Regions from separate parts of the Homo sapiens genome. Here all the other regions are linked to region 1. The links are contacts of gene promoters, found by promoter capture Hi-C in blood cells and fetal thymus (Javierre and others, 2016). All regions are on one chromosome and are shown on one strand. The core of a region is centred on a gene start or on the middle of the fragment in contact, and the rest is flanking DNA. Distances in the headings are between cores, read along the strand shown. Region 1 holds the start of CD93 (CD93 molecule). Region 2 has its middle 74 kb from the start of NXT1. Region 3 has its middle 140 kb from the start of SSTR4. Region 4 has its middle 92 kb from the start of NXT1. Region 5 overlaps LOC107985449 (a long non-coding RNA gene). Region 6 has its middle 93 kb from the start of LINC03125. Region 7 overlaps LOC107985449 (a long non-coding RNA gene).

Region 1 (2,601 bases), core at 64-2,563:
CGAGCGACCCAGAGCACACTCATCCACATCCTGACAGGCCCCCTCTCCAGGACCGCCCGGCTCATAGCCAACCCAGCATTCGCAGCGGAAGCCCCCAGGGGTGTTGACACACTCCTGGGCACAGGGGGAGTCCTGGCATTCATCCACGTCCACACAGTCCAGCTGACTCGAGTCCAGCTGGTACCCTTGGGGGCAGCGGCACGTGTAGTTTTTCCCATGGGGTCCCAGGACGCACGTGGCCCCCCCACGACATGGGCTGGAGCTGCAAGGGTTTCGAGAGGCACAGGTCACCAGGTCATCCAGCAGCCGGAATCCTGGTCGGCAGCCGCAGAGGAAGGAGCCATCCCCCCCTTCAAAGCAGTCCTGGTGGCAGCCCCCATTGTTGAAGTTGCAGCCATACTTGGGGCTGACACAGAGGGGGCCCGAGCTGCCCCAGTCGAACACATCGGGGGCCTTCTCCTTGCACAGGAAATAATGACTCTGAGTCTCGTCCTTGTCACCTTCCCCACAGGCTACATTGGCCGCAGAGGCAAAGGGCACAGCCTCCAAGGAGGAACTGGTGGTCTGGAAGGGGGTGGTGTAGGTCACCTGACCTGGGCCCCCCAGGGCCAGAGGCCGGCACATGCCTTTGAAGCTGAACTTGCACACGAAGCCCTCAATGTTACTTCCGGGGGAGCCTGGGCTCCCACAGGGGCCCTCAGACCACTTGGGGAGGCGGCTGGGAAGGAGCGGCTGGGACAGGTCCAGCAGCAGAGACACACAGCGCTTGGAGATGCACGAGTTCCGGAGCTCCTTGTGCCAGTTAGAGTAAGGCGTGTCCTCCCCCCCGCCCACCCAGCTGAAGCCCTTCAGCGGCAGACTAGGGTCCAGGCACTTGCCCTTCTCTCGCTGGAGCCCAATCCAGAACTTGCTCATCCTCGCCGTCAGGGCTGCCTCCCGCCTCAGGAGCTGGGCCAGTACTCGCTGGACGTGCTGGGCCTCCTCCTTGCTCTTCACAGTGGCCAGGTTGCCCCCGTTCTGGTTGCAGTGGTTCTGGGCCTCGGCAGCGCTCAGCTTGCCCGAGTGGGCCGTGTAGCAGGCGGTCCCCACGCAGACCACCGCCTCCGTGTCAGCTCCCGTCCCCGCCCCGGGCTGGGTCAGGAGCAGCAGCAGCAGCAGCAGCAGGCCCATGGAGGTGGCCATCCCGGTCTCTGTGTGGCCCTCTGCGGGAGGCGAGAAGCCCAGCGGCGACAGGAGCTTCTATCTCGGCTCCCAGCTGGGCCCCAAGGGGAGCTGAGGGGTGAGCTGCAGCCACTCCGGCGCAGAGAAGGACACAAAGGCTGAGGGCTTTCCACGTCCCCCTGACCCAAGGCGCATCCTGTACTGTTGTACTTCTTATTTCTCACCGGATGTTGGGGCTTCCTGCAATGAATAGTTCTCTGACTCCTGCTGCCTTCATCACGGTGCTGTTGTTCATAAAAGGAGTCAGGCAGCTCTGCCGGGTCCCTGGCTCAGCACTGTGGAAACAGCGACGGGGGGAAGACGTTACAGCCCCGAGATACTGCCGGCTTGATTTTGGCTCCATTCTCTTTCTCATGGCATGAGGAGCCTCGGAGGCATGCCATGGAGTGAGCAGGGGCTTTGGGGGCTAGGAACTCGAGGAAGCTCCCTTAGTAACCCATAATAAAATTCCACTTTGGTTTGCAAACCACCAAAAGAGAAAAAAAAAATTCTGAGACTTAAGACACAAGGCCATGGATGGTTATAATTTTCAGCCTTTTTTAGAAGCAAACTGGACTTTCCTTTTGCCTAGCTCATGTTCTCTGTTGACTTTGGGAGCCTTTTTTCTTTTATCCTCCCATCGTGAACCTTAAATAGACAGGCATTTTTTAAATAGGATACGGGTCGTGGGAATGTCTGGGTTTTCAACATAATGCCAAGCTCCTCGATAATGTTAATCCAAATTGGGTGAAATTTGGCAGTTCTGGGGGTTTCATAGTGGAAATATTGCATTGTGAGGTGTCAGGGTCACAAAAAGCATCAGAAAGAAAATGAAAATGTGTCCGGCCTCGTGGCGCAGGGCTTGCAGGCTCACTTCCCCCGGCTCAGGATTCCTAGCAAGGGCCGGAAATCTGGGCAGGGAGCGGGAATCGAAGCCCGGGCAGGCCCTCCCGCGACACCGCGACTCGGCAAAAGCCAGGGACTCACAGTGTGCTTTTCCTGCAGCCACAGACCTTTGCTCATTGGTTGGGATCCCCCAGGAGGGGACCCTGAGACAGGATTTGGGGAGACTAGTTTATGTGGGAGGGGAAGTGAAACAGACAAGGAGGAAGCCAACCCATGATGACTTGCTGAGAAGGTGACCCTGGGCTGCTGGAGCCAGTGCCAGGAAACTCTGGGGGCCTGAGGGGACCACACCTCAGCACCATCTCAGCTGAGGGAGAGGCTCCACTGCTCTCCAAGTCCCCTGTCATTGGTAGCAGGCTGTATCTCTCACTTTGAGAGACTGACTATAAATTCTAGCCCTGCCCAGTGACCAGGGGTCTCTCTCACATAAAACTTGTTTCTATGGACAGACACCCTTGTGGCTCTCGTCTGACCCATGTCCAGTTTATTCCTATC
Region 2 (2,601 bases), core at 51-2,550, 190 kb after region 1:
ACTAGGAGGCTGAGGCTTAGCAGGTTAAATTTCTTACCAGGGTCACATAACCAGCGAATGGAAGAGCTGAAGTGAGAATGTGGGTCTCTGCGGCTCTTTCCACATGGCCCATTGTGCCTTTGGATAATTTAATTCATGACAGCACTTCATTTTCTAAACAAATTCCTGATGAATGGGAAAGAGGAGGTTTTGAAGGGAAAGGAAGAATATTAGAAATATGAGGAACAAAAACCTTAGAACACAGAGAAATATCTCAAGGAGGAGAATGAGTAGACATAGCTGGGGTGTGTCTATGGGACAAAGAACAACTTGCTCATTGAGAGGACTTGGGAGGTTGAGAGAGAGAAAACTCACCAGGCCAACTCTGCTGTTGTCCTGATTTTCTCGAGTTCCCACTGGAAACATCAGTAATACCTGCTGATTTATTTAGGTGCTTATATAAAGTTTCACAAGTTTAAAGTAGTGCTCAGCTGGTTATGTATTCCATCCAACCATCCAGTGAGTCTTAGAAAGTGGATTAGTCGGGGTCTCCAGAGAGACAGAACCTGTAGGATGTACAGGCATATCTAATTTTATTGTTCTTGCTTTATTATGCTTTGCAGGCATTGCATTCTGTACAAACTGAAGTGTTATGGCAACCCTGTGTTGAGCAAGTCTATGGGCGCCATTTTTCCAACAGCATGTGTTCACTTCATGTCTCGATGTTACATTTTGGTAATTCTTGTAATATTTAAAGCTTTTTTGTCATTATTATATCTGTTACAGTTGTCTGTGGTCAGTGATCTTTGATATTACTATTGTAATTGTTTTGGGGCACCACAAACTGCACCCATATAAGACAGTAAATTTAATCAATAAATATTGTGTATGTTTGTTCCATCATCCAGCTGTTCCCGCATCTCTCTGTCTCACCTTGGGCCTCTCTATTCCCTGAAGCATAACACTATTAAAATTAAGACAACTAGTAATCCTACGGTGAACCTCTAAGTGTTCAAGTGAAAGGAAGAGTCACACATTTCTCACTTTAAATCAAAAGCTAGAAACCATTAAGCTTAGAAGATAGGCTTCTTGTGCCAAACAGTTATTCGAGTTGTGAATGCAAAGGAAAGGTTCTTGAAGAAAATTAAAAGTGCTACTCCAGTGAACACATGAATAATAAGAAAGTGAAACATCCTTACTGCTGAATTTGAGAAAGTTTTAGTGGTGGAGTTAGAAGATCCAACTAGCCACAACATTCCCTTAAGCCAAAGCCTAATCCAGAGCAAGGCCCTCTGCTCTAATTCAGTGAAGGTTGAGAGAGGTAAGGCAGCTGAAGAAGAAAAGTTTGAAGCTAGCAGAGATTGGTTTATGAAGTTTAAGGAAAGAAGCCACCTGTAAAAGCCATAATGTAAAAGCACAAGAAACTGCAGCAAGTTATCAAGATCTAGCTAAGATAATTAATGAAGGTGGCTAAACTAAACAGATTTTCATAGATGAAACAGCCTTCTATCGCAAGAAGATGCCAGCTAGAACTTTCATAGCTAGAGAGGAGAAGTCAATGCCTGGCTTCAAAGCTTCAAAGGACAAGCTGACTTTTTTTAGGGGCTAATGCAGCTGGTGACTTTAAATTAAAGCCAATGCTCATCTTCCATTCCCAAAGTCCTAGGGCCCTTAAGAATTATGCTAAATCTACTCTGCCTGTGCTCTATAATTGGAACAACAAAGCCTAGGTAACAGCTCATCTGTTTACAGCATGGTTTCCTGAATATTTGAAGCCCACTGTTGAGAAATACTGCACACACACACACACACACACACACACAAGATTTATTTCAAAATATTACTGTTCATTGACAATGCAGCTGGTCATCCAAAAGCTCTAATAGAGATGTTCAAGATTAATGTTGTTTTCACACCTCCTAACACAATATCTGTTCTTCAGCCCATGGATCAAGAAGTAATTTCAACTTTCAAGTCTTAATATTTAGGAACTACATTTTACAAGGCTATATCTGCCATAGATAGTGTTGGTCTTATGGAACTGGGCAAAGTAAATTGAAAACCTGTAAAGGATTCATTATTCTAGATGCCATTAAGAACATTCATGCAGCAAGTTATCAAGGGAGATTCATGGAAGAAGTTCAGAATATCAACATTCACAGGAGGTTGAAAGTTGATTCCAAGCCTCATGTATGACTTTGAGGGATGCAGGACTTCAGTGGAGGAAGTAACTGCAGATGTGTGGAAATAACAGCAACAACAACAAGCTAGAATTAGAAGCCGAGCCTGAAGACGTAACTGAATTGCTGCAATCTCATGATAAAATTTAAACAGCTACAGAGTTGCTTCTTATGAATGAGCAAAAAAAAAAAATAGTTTCTTGAGATGAAATGTATTCCTGGTGAAGATGCCATTGAAGATTGTTGAAATGACAGCAAAGCATTTAGAATATTACATGAACTTAGTTGATAAAGCAGTGACAGGGTTTGGAAGGATTGACTCCAAATTTGTTTTTTTGTTTTTGTGTTTTAATCTTGTATCATAGTGGGTTTTTTTTAATTTTGGTAATAATATTAAACTTAGAGTAAATTGCAAGAATAGTACAAACAACATTCATTCACC
Region 3 (2,601 bases), core at 54-2,553, 190 kb before region 1:
CTAGATGAGCTATGCCATACAACTGCATCTTTTATCTCCTCTCACTCCCCTCCACAGCTACAGGCATGAGAGAAGAGCAAGTGCTCTCCTGAAGCAAAGTCTTTAAAAAGCTCCCAACCCAAGAGTTGGGACACTGACAGGCTTACATTCACTTTTCCAGTTCACCCATGGTATGTGTTTCTGTTCTCACCTCAGTCTTGAGTTTTCCAGATCTGTCTTAAAGTAAAAGAGAAAATCCAAAGTCCCTGCATATCTCTTTACTGCATGCTGTAGAATTTTTCTTCCTAAGTTATTTCTGAGTCAACATTGATTCCTTCCCACTGAACTGAATTATGGTGTTTCAGGCCTAGTTAGTACTTTAATGATGTTGAAATCAAAGAGTAGAAGTTTTCACATGGGTATTCACATGAAATATTCCAGGACATGATTATTAGGTTCTTTGGGTTTGATAGCTGCCCTTGATTTACAGTCCCTTCTTGGCATCCACCATGCCTGAGAATAACAGATTAGCCACAGTCATACCTGTTTTTTTTCCAGAGCATATAAGAAAAATTGCTTCAATAAAAATTAAAAAAAAATCTTTGCCATCAACCACTCCCGTCCTCCCCCAAGCAAATGTTCATGCTAGTATCCACAGCATAGCGAGATGGGCATAGAGAAATGGCAGGGTCTCTAAGCTAATTCATTTCTATTCTTTCCTTCTCTCCCTTGCATGTTTCTAACTCTGCATTATTTTCCTCTAGGCCAAGGTAAAAGCCACCCTCTGCTTTTATAGTTGCAATGAGTTTAAAGACTTGAGCACAGCAGACTTGGAAAAGTGCTGTAGTAGGAAGCAGAAGTGCTGGGCTCTATGCTTCCAGGCCCTTGTACAGGAAAGGTGGTAGGACAATTGGTTAGAGCCCCCATACTGCCACTGAAGGGAACTTTTGTCTGTTAGGACAAGTCTTTTCTTTTTCTAAGAGGGAGAGAACATTATTTTCATTTCTGTTTTTCCCAGAAGCCAATCCTGAGACACAGATTACAGTATAAGTAGCTTATCTGGGAGGTGATGACTGGTAGGAAAGTGGAGAAGAGAGATCAGGTAGGAAAGCCAGTTAGTGGAGTGTTTGTTAACAAGCAGGGGACCGGTAGGTAGCTGAAGCTTGGTTCTGCTGGAGAAATCTGCTACCACACCTCAGAGCCATCCCACATGAAATGGGAGGGAGCTGGGGTCCTTACCCTCCACCCCACTAGCCACTGAGTTGAGGGCAGCTCTGGAGAGTCACTGTTTCCAGCACTTCCTGCCTGTCATGCTTGGGCAGAGAAAACTCTGGTGGCCAGAGGAAACAGGGAGGTAAGAAATCTAGGTGCTAATGGTTGGGAGGGAGACTTGGAGGCCTCCACTTCCTCACTAGTGAAACATCAATGCACAGATTGAGCTCACAGGCTACTGTGTGGTTGAAACAAGATGATACCTTCAAGAGCACAAGCTTGGTCTTACAGAGGAAGCAGACTGCTAGTGTCCTGTGAGTTGTTTGCTTACCTACTAAATAGCTAGATCCACCAATACATTCAAAAAAACCAAACTCATACAAACCACACTTTTAGACAATAGCACCATAAAAGCAGAAATCCATACCAAGAAGATCTCTCAAAACCATACAATTACATGGAAATTAAACAACCTGTTCCTGAATGACTTTTGGGTAACAATGAAATTAAGGCCAAAATCATGAAATTATTTGAAACTAATGAAAACAATGATAAAACATGCCAGAATCTCTGAGGCATAACTAAAGCAATGTTAAAAGGAAAGTTTATAGTGCTAAGTGCCCACATCAAAAAGTTAGAAAGATTTCAAATTAACAACCTAAAATCACACCTAAAGGAACTAGAGAAACAAGAGTAAACCAACCCTAAACCTAGCAGAAATAAAGAAATAATCAAAATCAGAGCTGAGCTGAACAAAATTGAGAGGTGAAAACTATACAAAAGATCAACAAAACCAAAAGTTGGTTCTATAAAAGAGTAAATAATATTGATAGACTGCAAGCTAGACTAATAAAGAAAAACAAAAAGAGAAGATTCTAATAAGTAATCATAAATGACAAAGGGGACATTGCCACCAACCCTATGGAAATAGAAAATCATCAGAGACTATTATGAACACTTCTATGCACACAAACTAAAAAACCCACCAGAATGGATAAATTCCTAGAAACATACAACCTCCCAAGATTGAATCAGAAAGACATTAAAACTATGAACATACCAACAGTGAGTTCCAAAATTGAATCAGTGATAAAAAGCCTACCAATCAGAAAAATCCCTAGACCAGATGGATTCATAACAAAATTCTACCAGAAGCATAAATAAGAGTTGGTATCAATTCTATTGAAGCTATTCCAAAAAAATTGAGAAGTAGAGACTACTCCCTAACTTATTCTATGGGGCCAGTATCATTCTGATATCAAAACCTGGCAGAGACACAATGAAAAAAGAAAACTTCAGGCCAATATCCCTGATAAAAATAGATGCAAAAATCCTCAACAAAATATTAGTAAACTGAATCCAGCACACATCAAAAAGCTAAACCCCCACAATCAAGTAGGCTTTATTCAT
Region 4 (2,601 bases), core at 26-2,525, 170 kb after region 1:
CCAGACCCTGCCCTCCATCCTGGCTGGAGCCCAAGGGGCCCCACGCCCACCCAGGAGGAAGAGGCTCCGCTTCCACACCGGGTTCCAAGAGACGCACCCCCACCTCAAGGCAAGTGTACCAGTGCCAGGCCAGAGAGAAGCTGGCCACTTTTCTCTCCCACAGTAAAAGTGCTATGTAAGCAGAAACCCACCCAGCTACTTAAGCGCACAGACCTGTCTATTCGGGCAGCGATTCCTCAGCTCCACACCCAGCATACTGAAGAAGTTGGGAGTTGCAGGTGAAAAAAATCACTCAGGGCTTCCAGGTTTCTACAACTGCTTAGCAGACACCTTACTCATCTGAGCCCTCACAGAGCACTGTGACCACAAATAGGCCAGCACTTTCATTTCCAATCTACAAATAAAAAATATCAGGCGCAGAGCTCTTTCTCAAGGAGGCACAGCTAATGTCAGAGCCCAGGCTCTGCCCCAGGCTCAGGGCCTTCAATAATCCTGTGCTACCTAAGGAGCAGTTTTTATCCTGTGTGGTTTGTCTGGAAAGGAACACAGCCCCCATCCCAGAAGGGCGTGCCTTCATGCTCACACCACAGGGTCACCTCATAGGCTGCCATCCCTTTTCTCCTCTGTCAGTATATACATGTTTCCACCTGAGGATCAAGAGAAGTGTGGCCCAGTAGCCGGGGAATTGAAGCAAAAAGACCTAGATGTGAATCTGGTCTCTGCTGCCCTGGGCAAGTGTGCTACAGTGTTCCAATCACAGCTCATTCAAAATCACGAGAGGATAATCACCCCTGCCTGGCATCGCAGTGCAGAGGCATAAAAGCAGCATTTATAAAGCCCGATGCCATACCTCCCAGAGTGAGCCTTATCAACAGCAGCCATCATTATGCCATTAAACACTCAAAAGGCTTTCTTTAGAGGAGAAAGGATTGCATCATTGATTAGAGGTTGGCCTGAATTTGTGCAAATGTTGTTGGTGAGAAAGCTTGGTGCCTGATGACTGATAAACCCAGAATGCAATATTGCTAGGATTTTTTTATAGTCAGCCTCCTCTTTCCAATAACCCCCTGCTCACTCCTAAGCCACTTAGGCTGAGCAAGAGGGAATTAACCTGGGCGAGTCCAGAGCGGAAGCCTGAATGGCCCATTCATCTTTCAGTAGCTGACAATGGGTTGCATATTACTTTATAAGCTCTACAGTTTAGTGTCAATGAAGCCTCGGTGTTTTTAAAGCTCCTGTTATGCCATCATTACTTCAGATATGTGGAAAATTCACTTGCAAGCATAACATTTTTCACAGTTTGTGATTTGTATCAGGAAGTGACTCAACTTCCTCTAGGCTCCAAGGCAGTCATAGCTGGGAAGGGGAAAACTCTGTCTGCCAAGACCAAGGGAACCAACCAGCTGCATCATAAACCACACCATTGTGGAATATATCCTGCTAATCTGGCTAAAGATGACTGCAGGACAAAATTTCCAGGGTGAGAGTGCCCTTCAAGAGCCCAGCACATTGGGAGAAAATAGACTAAGATCAAAAATCCCTATGCATTCTAGAGCAAAACCATAAAAGCTTATACCAAAGATCAAGGGTTGCAAGCCATCTGACTTCTCTGCAGCCACACTGGAAGCTACAAGACATAAATCAAAGACATAAGACTTTCTCTTAGCTGCGTGTGGTGGCAGGTGCCTGTAATCCCACCTACTCAGAAGGCTGAGGCATGAGACTCGCTTGAACCAGGGAGGTGGAGGCTCCCCAGCCCATTGCCCAGGCTGGAGTGCAGTGAGCCGAGATCACTCCACTGCACTCCAGCCTGGGTGATAGAGTGGGACTCTATCTTAAAACAAAAAAACAAACAAACAAACAAAAACTTTCTCAATTGTGAAAGTAAATAATTTGCAACCTAGAATTCTATACCTGGTTGTCTTACTCCATTCAGGCTACCATAACATAATGCCTTAGATTGGGTAATTTATAAACAACTGAAATTAATTTCTCACAGTCCTGGAGGCTGTAAAGTCCAAGATCAAGGTGTCAGCAGATTCAGTGTCTGACGAGTGCTCAGTCTCTACTTCATAGACAGCCAGCCCCTCCCTGTCTATGCAAATGGTGGAAGGGACAGATAAGCTCCCTGGGGTACTAATCCCATTTATGAAGGTTGAGCCCTCATGACCTCATCACCCCCCAAAAACCCCACCTCTTAATACTATTGCACTGGGGATTTGGTTCCAACATAAGAATTTTGGGGGGACAAACAACATTCAGATCATAGCACCAGCCAGTCAATTAAGTAGGAAGGTAGACTGTAGACATTTTCAAATATGTGAGATCTCAGAAATGTTCCTTCACTTCTCTCTCTGAAGAAGCTACTGGAGTTTGTACTCCATCAAATTAAGAGAATGAATCAAAGAATGTGGTGAGACAGAATCCAAGAAGCAGAAAATCCAGCACAGGAGAGGAGAGGAGACTCTCTGGAGGAACTCCAAGTGAAGATGCCAGGATGGCAGTGATGCACCAGATCTAGACCTCAGTCCAGACTGGAGGAGTCAGGGGCTCTAGGAGAGACTTCTTCAAGAAAAAGAAATTAAGAGTATCTGGTGTGGA
Region 5 (2,601 bases), core at 34-2,533, 160 kb before region 1:
TGAGTCTCTCATCAGGCAAGTGAGCTGTTTCATGAGTAGCTGACTCCCAAAAGTTGGCTGGCTGGGGCAGCTTGGGTGCTGATTTCAGTTCAGTATAACATGTCAAATGTTAATAATTAATGCTTTGCATAGTAATTGTCAAGTAGGAATAGTCAAAAAGAGAAACTTGTTGAAGAAGAGGATAAAAGGGAGCAGGAGGTAGGAAGCAGGGAGGATAAAAGAGCGTAGGTAAGAGTTGATAATAAACCGTGTCCAGGTGGAAATTCAGCAACAAAAACTGTATGAGGAGAAATGACCTCTTTGAAGGGTGTTGAATCATGAACACAAGGATGATTCAGCAATGAACTGGTAGCAGAGATCTCCAGGAAGGATACAGTTTAGGCTCATGGCTCCAGCAACCCAGACTCTAAGGAGAACCCAACAGGCCCACCACAGAAACTTGAGTTACCTGTGGCCCCAGCAGGAAAGCAGCAAGCAGTGGGAGCCAGAGATGTCATGAAATCACTTGCCTAAGTCTGCAAAAGAGTCCCCCAGGACAGAGAGGAAATTTGACCCCCCTCCTATTTCCAAGACATAGGCACGTTCACTGCCCCTGGGAGAGAAGGCGGAAGAAGAATCCCATGTCCTCCACTGTTCTGTCTTCTGTCTGTGGTCTTAGCTCTCCCCAGTTTCTGAAGTGGTGAAAATTTTCTCAAAACTTTCCCTCTATTTCTACCCCCAAATTTTTAAAGATTTTTCTGTATTCAGCCATGTGCCAAGTACATGACACATCTTCTGTTCCTGCACAGTCTGGTGAGGAGCATCTTCTGTTATCCCCACTTTATGGATGCAGGGTCTGTGGTCAGTGAGGGCAGCTGCTTGTCCTCACTGACAGTGAGTACTGGAGAGGGACTTGAATCCCCACCCATCTCTGTTCCAACACCAGCACATTCAAGAATCACATAGAACTCCACCCTCTCCCTCTCTCTTCCCCTCTCCTTTTCCTTTGTGTCTACTTAACTTGTATTATTGCCATTTGCTTCTTTTCCCCTCAGTGAAGTGTGAGACTGGTCAGTGTTTTTTTTTTTTTTTCTTTTCCCCCTGTTCGTTCCCAGGAAACAGTGAAGTTTATATAAGTCTCAATCAAAGCAGCCTTCCATCACCACGTTCCATCATCTGCCCAAACTTCTGCTTCCTCTTGACATTTAGGTCTGGGGTGGAGGGCAAAGGCTGTCACCAGAGAAAAGCCAGCTGCTCACAGCCACAATGTCTCACATGCTGGTCTGTCCTCAGATAGCCTGCCATGTCTCAGGGTCTGGTTCTCAACCTCAAAAGTTTCCAAAGATGACAACCTTCTCGCAGAGACAGGGCTCACTAGTTTTTTTTTTTTTTTCTCAATTCTGTAATTCAAAAATTGTTTATGTTTCATTTGATAACTTAATTTCTAGAGTTTTGAAGACACCTTGCTGCCATCTTTGTCTGCCTTTCTGGCTGAACAGAAGGCAACTGCAAGAGGAATACCTCAGACCAGGAAATTGAGTCCAGAGCCTCACATCAGCACTGACGTGAGGCTGACTAATGAGTACTCATCACGAACTTCAAGAGCATGAGAGAAAGACTGCGGACCCATTACAGCTTGCAGGGGACTACTTGCTCTCCACTCCAGTCTTAAATGTCACTAGAGGTGTCGAGTGGGTGGGGGCAGTGGCCTCCAGGGCCTTCATCCCTAGACATTCTGATGGCTCACTAATGCCCTCTAGAAAGGCAATGTTGGATTCAACTCTGAACTCTGAAAATCTCTAGACAAAGAAGATGGTTATCTTTTGAAATCTGACATACCAGAAGATAAGGTTGAAGAGCCCATGGCAGTGCCTTAATTTCCTATTTTTCCTCAAATGTTTTCAGTTGAGCAAAACACATTTTATAAAGCCATTTCTCCTCTAAAAATGTTAAACCCACATTTCAAAATAAGAGAAATCATCTCCTTATGAATCTGATTCATTCACACTTTTATGGGAAGTTTGGCAAACAGAAAATTGGTGGTTCCTTTGTTCCAGATTGTCTACCCAAAAAAGAGGGACAGGGTCCAGAGGACACTAGACTCCTCTCCTGACTCAACACCTTCCATTGGTAAGGCTCTTGCCTCTTTCTATGACCAATAAAGCACAGATAATGACTAGAAAACAGAGGCCATGAGTAGGATGGGCCACTGAACTGGTGCTAAGCAAGTCCTCTTGCTCACCTACTCTTAAAGGTCATTAAAGACTGAGCTTCAAGCCTTCCTTGCCTTGCCTTGCCTCCCACCATGATCCTGGTTGAGATACATTAACTTTTCTTCTCTGATTATCTCAGCAGCCAAATACCTGGTCTCACTGAGTCTAAGTTTGCCCTTCTTTAATCTATCCTCTTCTCACTCTGCCTTTGTTTCTGAATGATATTGTTAGTCACGTTATGGCTCTGCTCAGGGATGACTTTTCACCTCTCGATCACCTGCAAACCATACAAACTGCATTTTCTTACACTATTACTTCAAATGTCTCCTTCCACATATTTCCAGGACAACCACAGCTCACCTCTTTGGAAAGCATGTTCTTTCCTGCTTCTTCCTGGTCTCTTCTTCCC
Region 6 (2,601 bases), core at 37-2,536, 150 kb after region 1:
TTATTAGGAGGCTGCCAATCACCAGTTACAGGTGTTTTTATCTATTGGGAAACTGCCTTTCCCTAGCACTGGATGCGACCAATTATTATTTTAGAGAGGGAGTGTTACAACCACCTGACCATCACCTGATGGTCACCTGGCATTCCTGGTGGGGAAGTGGACGTCCTCTCCTGCCCTGTTTGTGTTTGACTAGCTATCCACTATAACAATATCATATGTTCAATTCTTTTTTTTTTTTTTTTGAGACAGAGTCTCACTTTGTCACCCAGGCTGGAGTGCAATGGCATGATCTCAACTCACTGCAACCTCCTCCTCCCAGGTTCAAGTGATTCTCCCACCTCAGCTGCCCCAAGAGCTGGGATTACAGGCACCTGCCATCATGCCCAGCTAATTTTTGTATTTTTATAGAGATGGGGTTTCACCATGTTGGCCAAGCTGGTCTTGAACTCCTGACCTCAGCTCATCCACCTGCCTTGGCCTCCCAAAGGTTGGGATTATAGGTGTGAGCCACCACACCCTGCCAAATGTTCAATTCTTAAGAAAGAAAAATCTAACAAATCCTACACTAACAAGTGTTGAAAGTGTGCTAGGAAATTGTGAATTCGTATACACTGCTGATGAGACATCTTTGAAGAGCTAGCTGGTAATATCAGATAATATTAAAAATTGAGCTTGTCCCATGACTCAGCAAACTTTATTGTAGAAAATCTAGGTATCAATCTCTGAAATGCATGCACAATAGGAAATATACATGGTGTGGTTTTTTTTAAAGCACCATTTGCAACAAGTAAAAACTGAAATGACCTAAATATCCACCAATAGCAAAATAGATAAAGTATGACATATTCATATACTGGAATGCTACACATTGATTAAAATAAACATGCTATTCATGCATTGTCAACAAGAATAAATCTTAAAAAACAATTGGTGTTTGGGGAAAGGGGAATAGAGAGTTGTTGTTTGATGGGTGTAGAGTTTCAGTTTGGAAAGAAAGAAGGTTCTGGAAGTGGATGGTGGTGATAGTTCGAACGTACTTAATGCCACTGAACTGTACAGTTTAAAATGTCTAAAATGGACCCATGTTGTTCAAGGATCAACTGTACTTCAATCAATCAATAGAAGTGAGCATTGACTTTGCTTTTGCCTTTAAAAAATCCTTTAGGAAAACAACACATCTTATATTTTTCTTTGCTGGGGGGGCTTCCCTGTGTCACTCAGGCTGGAGTGCAGTGGCGCTATCTCAGTTCACTGCAACATCCACCTCCTGGGCTTGAGAGATCCCCCCACCTCAGCCTCCTGAGTAGCTGGGACTATAGACATGAACCATCATGGCTGGCTAATTTTTTAATTTTTTGTAGAGATGTTTTTGTAGAGTTTTTTTGTAGAGACCAGCCATTTGCTCAGGCTGGTCTTGAATTCCTGGGCTCAAGTGATCTGCCTGCCTCGGGCTCTCAAAATGCTGGGATTATAGACTTGAGCCACCATGTCCGGCCAACAAGCATCTTTTGAAGTACAAATTATTGAAGGGTTTACAGCACTTGCTCACTCATGTACGTGAGGTCCCTGCACTGGTTCTTTCCATCAACCAGATGGATCCACTGGTGGGAGGAAGTGGATGATAGAAGTGGGGTCCATGAGGCACTGCTCAGAGGACTGGCAGGACAGTAGGCTGACAGGACATCTAAGGGAAGCAGAAGGTCTGAGGGAGGAAGAGGAGAGGCAGAGCCCAGGCAACCTGGGCCCCCTGCCTGGCCAGTTCTGGGATGCTGCCCTCAGCAGAGCTGGGGGAGAACTGTCACACTTTCACTGCCCTTGCCACCCGGCTCATATCACCAGGCACCATGCCACTGCAGGGACACTCCTCAATTCACCAACCAGCAAAGGACCCCTGGAATTTTTCTTGACTCTGAGGCTTTAGTGAAAGTAGTGAGGAAAACATCTAAAAATAAAATCGTGATGAATTCAAGATGTATGTGGCATTATGCTTGTCAGAAAAAGCTCAATGACTTAAGTTTTGTCCCCATCATTCCTTAGGAGCCACCGGGTAAACATTTGCACCTGGCTGGAGAGGGCAGAGAGGAGCCTTGGTTCCCATCAGGCCACCAGCCCTAGGATTTGCCAGCATCATTCTGTGGTGCCTACTCACACACACACGTGCTCTCTCCCCAGCCTCTCCTCTTCAGCACCCTCCCTCCCCAGTGTCCATACATTTTCCTACATCTGGTTGTGGACGGAAATGTCTGAGGAATCACAGAAGGGCCCTGATAGTGAAATAGACACAGGGGCCAGCCTGCACCCTTCTTGACCCTTGGGCTTGACCTAATATCTTTGCAGGGTAGTTCACAGTCTGAACCAGGTGAGCAAACTTCTTGTGTGAAGAGCAGACAGCAAACATTTCAGGCTGTGGGGGCCACCCAGTCTCTGCTGCAACTGGTTAACTTGCTGCTGTAGCTTCAAAGTAGCCATAGGCAATATATAAACAAATTGTGTCACTGTGTTCCAGTAAAACTTTATTATACACACTGAACTTTGAATTTCATATAATTTTGGGGTGTTTTGCAATATTAGTCTTCCCAGCCGCCTAAAAATGTAAAATCC
Region 7 (2,601 bases), core at 49-2,548, 140 kb before region 1:
TTTCATGCATCATCCTGCAGAGAAGTTACAGTCTTTCACTCTCACCGACCCCATCAGGGGTACCTATTTCAACACACCAACACCAGTTGCAGATTTTATTAATCTTTCTGACCTTTACCAATCTTACTGCTCAAACTCCTTCCTGCTTTGATTTACATATATTTGATGCAAATTTGAACCAATTTTTTATTGGCTAGCCAGACAATTTTTTTTAGAAAAAGCACACAAATTATTATGATGAGGAAGGTACTTTGTAGGCATTAGATAGTTAATGTTAGTTAACAGCTGAAGAATCTTGAAAAATAAGCTCTACTAAAACAAATCCTAAACTTTTTCAAGATGCTAAATAATTCTGAGTCAGAAATAGTATTACTTAGAATCCCTACACGCACACACACACACACTTTTCTTATTCAGTGATCAGAGCTCTTGGTCCATTCTTCAATCGCCACTATTCTGCCTGCAAAAGACAGAGAATGGGAAGTGTTGGTGCCCCTGTTTGTAGAGATTGGAATTATAGTGTTGGCCATATCTGGGTTAGAAACCTGACTCCACCCCATACCCACTGACATCAAGTTTGTTTTCTTTCCTTTTTTCCTAAAAATGTTACCTATATTCTTAAAAGTAGGTATTTTGGGCTAAGTAAATATCATCATTTTCATTTTGCACATAGAAGTGGAAAAAAATTATATTACTTGCCCAAAGGAAAAAAAATATGTGTACATTTATGTAGCATCTGCATACTCATCATATCCATTTCCCAATGTGATTCCTTTCCTGGATAAGAATAGAGAGGGCTGGTGTTCCCATGTCTTGAATAAAGACATGGCAGCCCAAGCAATGCATGACTGGCCAGGATCTGACATCTAAATGGTAGATTAGGGCTGCAGCAGAGTCATCGTGACTCCTAGTCCGGCATTCTCCCCACCCTCTATGCTATAAGGAAAACAAAATGTAATGAAATAGCCCTTTTAACAACTGCAACTTGGAGCCAAGGCCACCAATGGCACAATCACTAAAAACCCCACAGACAACGCCCAGTCAAACCACAGTCTGGGAACAGACCCCAGACAGCCCCTTGTGGGCCCAGGCCCTCTCTGAGTTCTTCATCCCATGAAAGGGTTCTGTGAAATCTGACCATTTGTCATTCTCAAAGAACCAAAATTAAAGACTGTTCTCATGCCACGAGTTGATTGTTACCATGGGTAGGGATGAAACTATATTTCTCTTTCTCCCACTGTATTTCTTGACCATATAGTTGTGCAACAAATATAAATTAAATATTAGTTAAATACATTGTCTCCCCATGGTCTTGAGACTATGAGTCAGCCTTCCTTCTCAACAAAGACACAGTTGATGCCAGAAATTAGCAAGGCAATAATCTGTCTAACAGTAAATATTTGCCTAAAGGCCATGTTCTAAATATATGACCCAGTGGAATATATGAGAGGCACCTCCTTTCTTAAGGAGCTCATAACCCAAGCACTAAGAAGAATAACCACATGAAAAGGCCACCACCACCCACAGTGTGAACATCTGAGACCCTGGCGTCAGAGACAGCCTTTGACTCAGGAAGAAAAAGCTCTGTGCTGAGTGTCCATTCTCAGCTGGATTCTGCCTTGGTAATGCTACAAACATCCTCAGATAACAATTCCCACTGTCTCCTTGTAAGTATTATCATCTCCCCCGAGGAGATAGAAAACTAAGGTTCTGCGATAAAAGAAACTTGAACTGGGATCTGGACAATAGTTAAGTTTAATTTCACATCAGAGAGGGTGAGGAGGCAGAGATGTGACCTCAGGATGATGGCTTCTAGTCCTGGGTAGATTTGCTCTCATGTCTGAAACTGGAGTACTGGATAAGCCTCGCGGCATGGTCTTGCATCTGGGAAGTAGAGCTTTCTTCAATTCTTGCAACCGAGGAGGCACCTAGCAATGGTAGAAGTGCTTAGAGAGAGTATTTCCCCAACCACACCCCCTTGAGGGCTTTAAGCTACATCTCCCAGGACTCTACGTGGCCCCACACAGGGGTTCTCTGTCAAGAGAAATGGAAGTCGAGGAGAAGCTAGAACCTCAGTGTTCTCTTTTGTCGTGCAGGAATGAGGTCCCTGTACCATCTCAGCTGAAGCACAAGTGTGAGTTCATCCCATCACCTTTCTGTCCCTATTCAATGGATTAAATTTAGCAATTATGACATAAGGCTGAAAAAGACAACTCAAAACTCCAAGAATCATCCAATGTTGAGTGACGTAAGGGTGGGAGGAAGAGAAGTTAAAAATAACAGATGCATGAAAACACTCAGCTTAATAAAATAAATATATCCAAGTCCATGAGGACAAAGTGATTGAAATACTTAGCGTTCAGGATTGTCCAAAAGACCTTTCTGTGCTAATATGCAACTCTTTCACATCTACACTACCCAATACAGTAGCCCCCAGCCGTGTGTAGCTACAGAGAAACTGACTAGTGCCATTGAAAAACTCAGTTTTTCATTTGGAAATGTGCACAGAATGGACAAAATTCTAGACAAAGTATAACTTCACAAAATCAATTCATGAAGAATTTTTTTAAAAAAACTTGATTTCTGATTGTATTGTATTGA

The links. The method cuts DNA at HindIII sites, captures the fragments that hold promoters and counts their contacts. A CHiCAGO score of 5 or more calls a contact.
Region 2: a fragment that was not itself captured here is called in contact with the fragment with the promoter of CD93 in region 1 in 1 of 17 cell types (monocytes); the score reaches 9.6 in monocytes.
Region 3: a fragment that was not itself captured here is called in contact with the fragment with the promoter of CD93 in region 1 in 1 of 17 cell types (neutrophils); the score reaches 6.7 in neutrophils.
Region 4: a contact is called between a fragment that was not itself captured here and the fragment with the promoter of CD93 in region 1, in 6 of 17 cell types (monocytes, endothelial precursors, M1 macrophages and 3 more). The highest score is 20.2, in monocytes.
Region 5: a fragment that was not itself captured here is called in contact with the fragment with the promoter of CD93 in region 1 in 2 of 17 cell types (neutrophils and monocytes); the score reaches 7.5 in neutrophils.
Region 6: a contact is called between a fragment that was not itself captured here and the fragment with the promoter of CD93 in region 1, in 6 of 17 cell types (neutrophils, monocytes, M0 macrophages and 3 more). The highest score is 20.8, in neutrophils.
Region 7: a contact is called between a fragment that was not itself captured here and the fragment with the promoter of CD93 in region 1, in 1 of 17 cell types (neutrophils). The highest score is 7.9, in neutrophils.

The regions. Positions count from the first base shown.
Region 1 is chr20:23,085,011-23,087,611 of GRCh38, forward strand. It overlaps CD93 (CD93 molecule), which reads right to left and starts at 1,314. Exons shown (of 2, transcript NM_012072.4): 1 at 1-1,314. The coding sequence starts at 1,182. RefSeq lists an enhancer at 1,298-1,477. The HindIII fragment of the contact is 6,182 bases long and covers 1-2,601 here.
Region 2 is chr20:23,275,276-23,277,876 of GRCh38, forward strand. No RefSeq gene overlaps it. Among named protein-coding and RNA genes, the nearest start is that of NXT1, 74 kb to the right of the region's middle. The HindIII fragment of the contact is 502 bases long and covers 1,050-1,551 here.
Region 3 is chr20:22,898,750-22,901,350 of GRCh38, forward strand. No RefSeq gene overlaps it. Among named protein-coding and RNA genes, the nearest start is that of SSTR4, 140 kb to the right of the region's middle. The HindIII fragment of the contact is 328 bases long and covers 1,140-1,467 here.
Region 4 is chr20:23,257,285-23,259,885 of GRCh38, forward strand. No RefSeq gene overlaps it. Among named protein-coding and RNA genes, the nearest start is that of NXT1, 92 kb to the right of the region's middle. The HindIII fragment of the contact is 584 bases long and covers 984-1,567 here.
Region 5 is chr20:22,924,233-22,926,833 of GRCh38, forward strand. All of the region lies in intron 1 of LOC107985449 (a long non-coding RNA gene), which reads left to right. Among named protein-coding and RNA genes, the nearest start is that of SSTR4, 110 kb to the right of the region's middle. The HindIII fragment of the contact is 9,183 bases long and covers 1-2,601 here.
Region 6 is chr20:23,240,024-23,242,624 of GRCh38, forward strand. No RefSeq gene overlaps it. Among named protein-coding and RNA genes, the nearest start is that of LINC03125, 93 kb to the left of the region's middle. The HindIII fragment of the contact is 8,047 bases long and covers 1-2,601 here.
Region 7 is chr20:22,948,519-22,951,119 of GRCh38, forward strand. All of the region lies in intron 1 of LOC107985449 (a long non-coding RNA gene), which reads left to right. Among named protein-coding and RNA genes, the nearest start is that of SSTR4, 85 kb to the right of the region's middle. The HindIII fragment of the contact is 6,397 bases long and covers 1-2,601 here.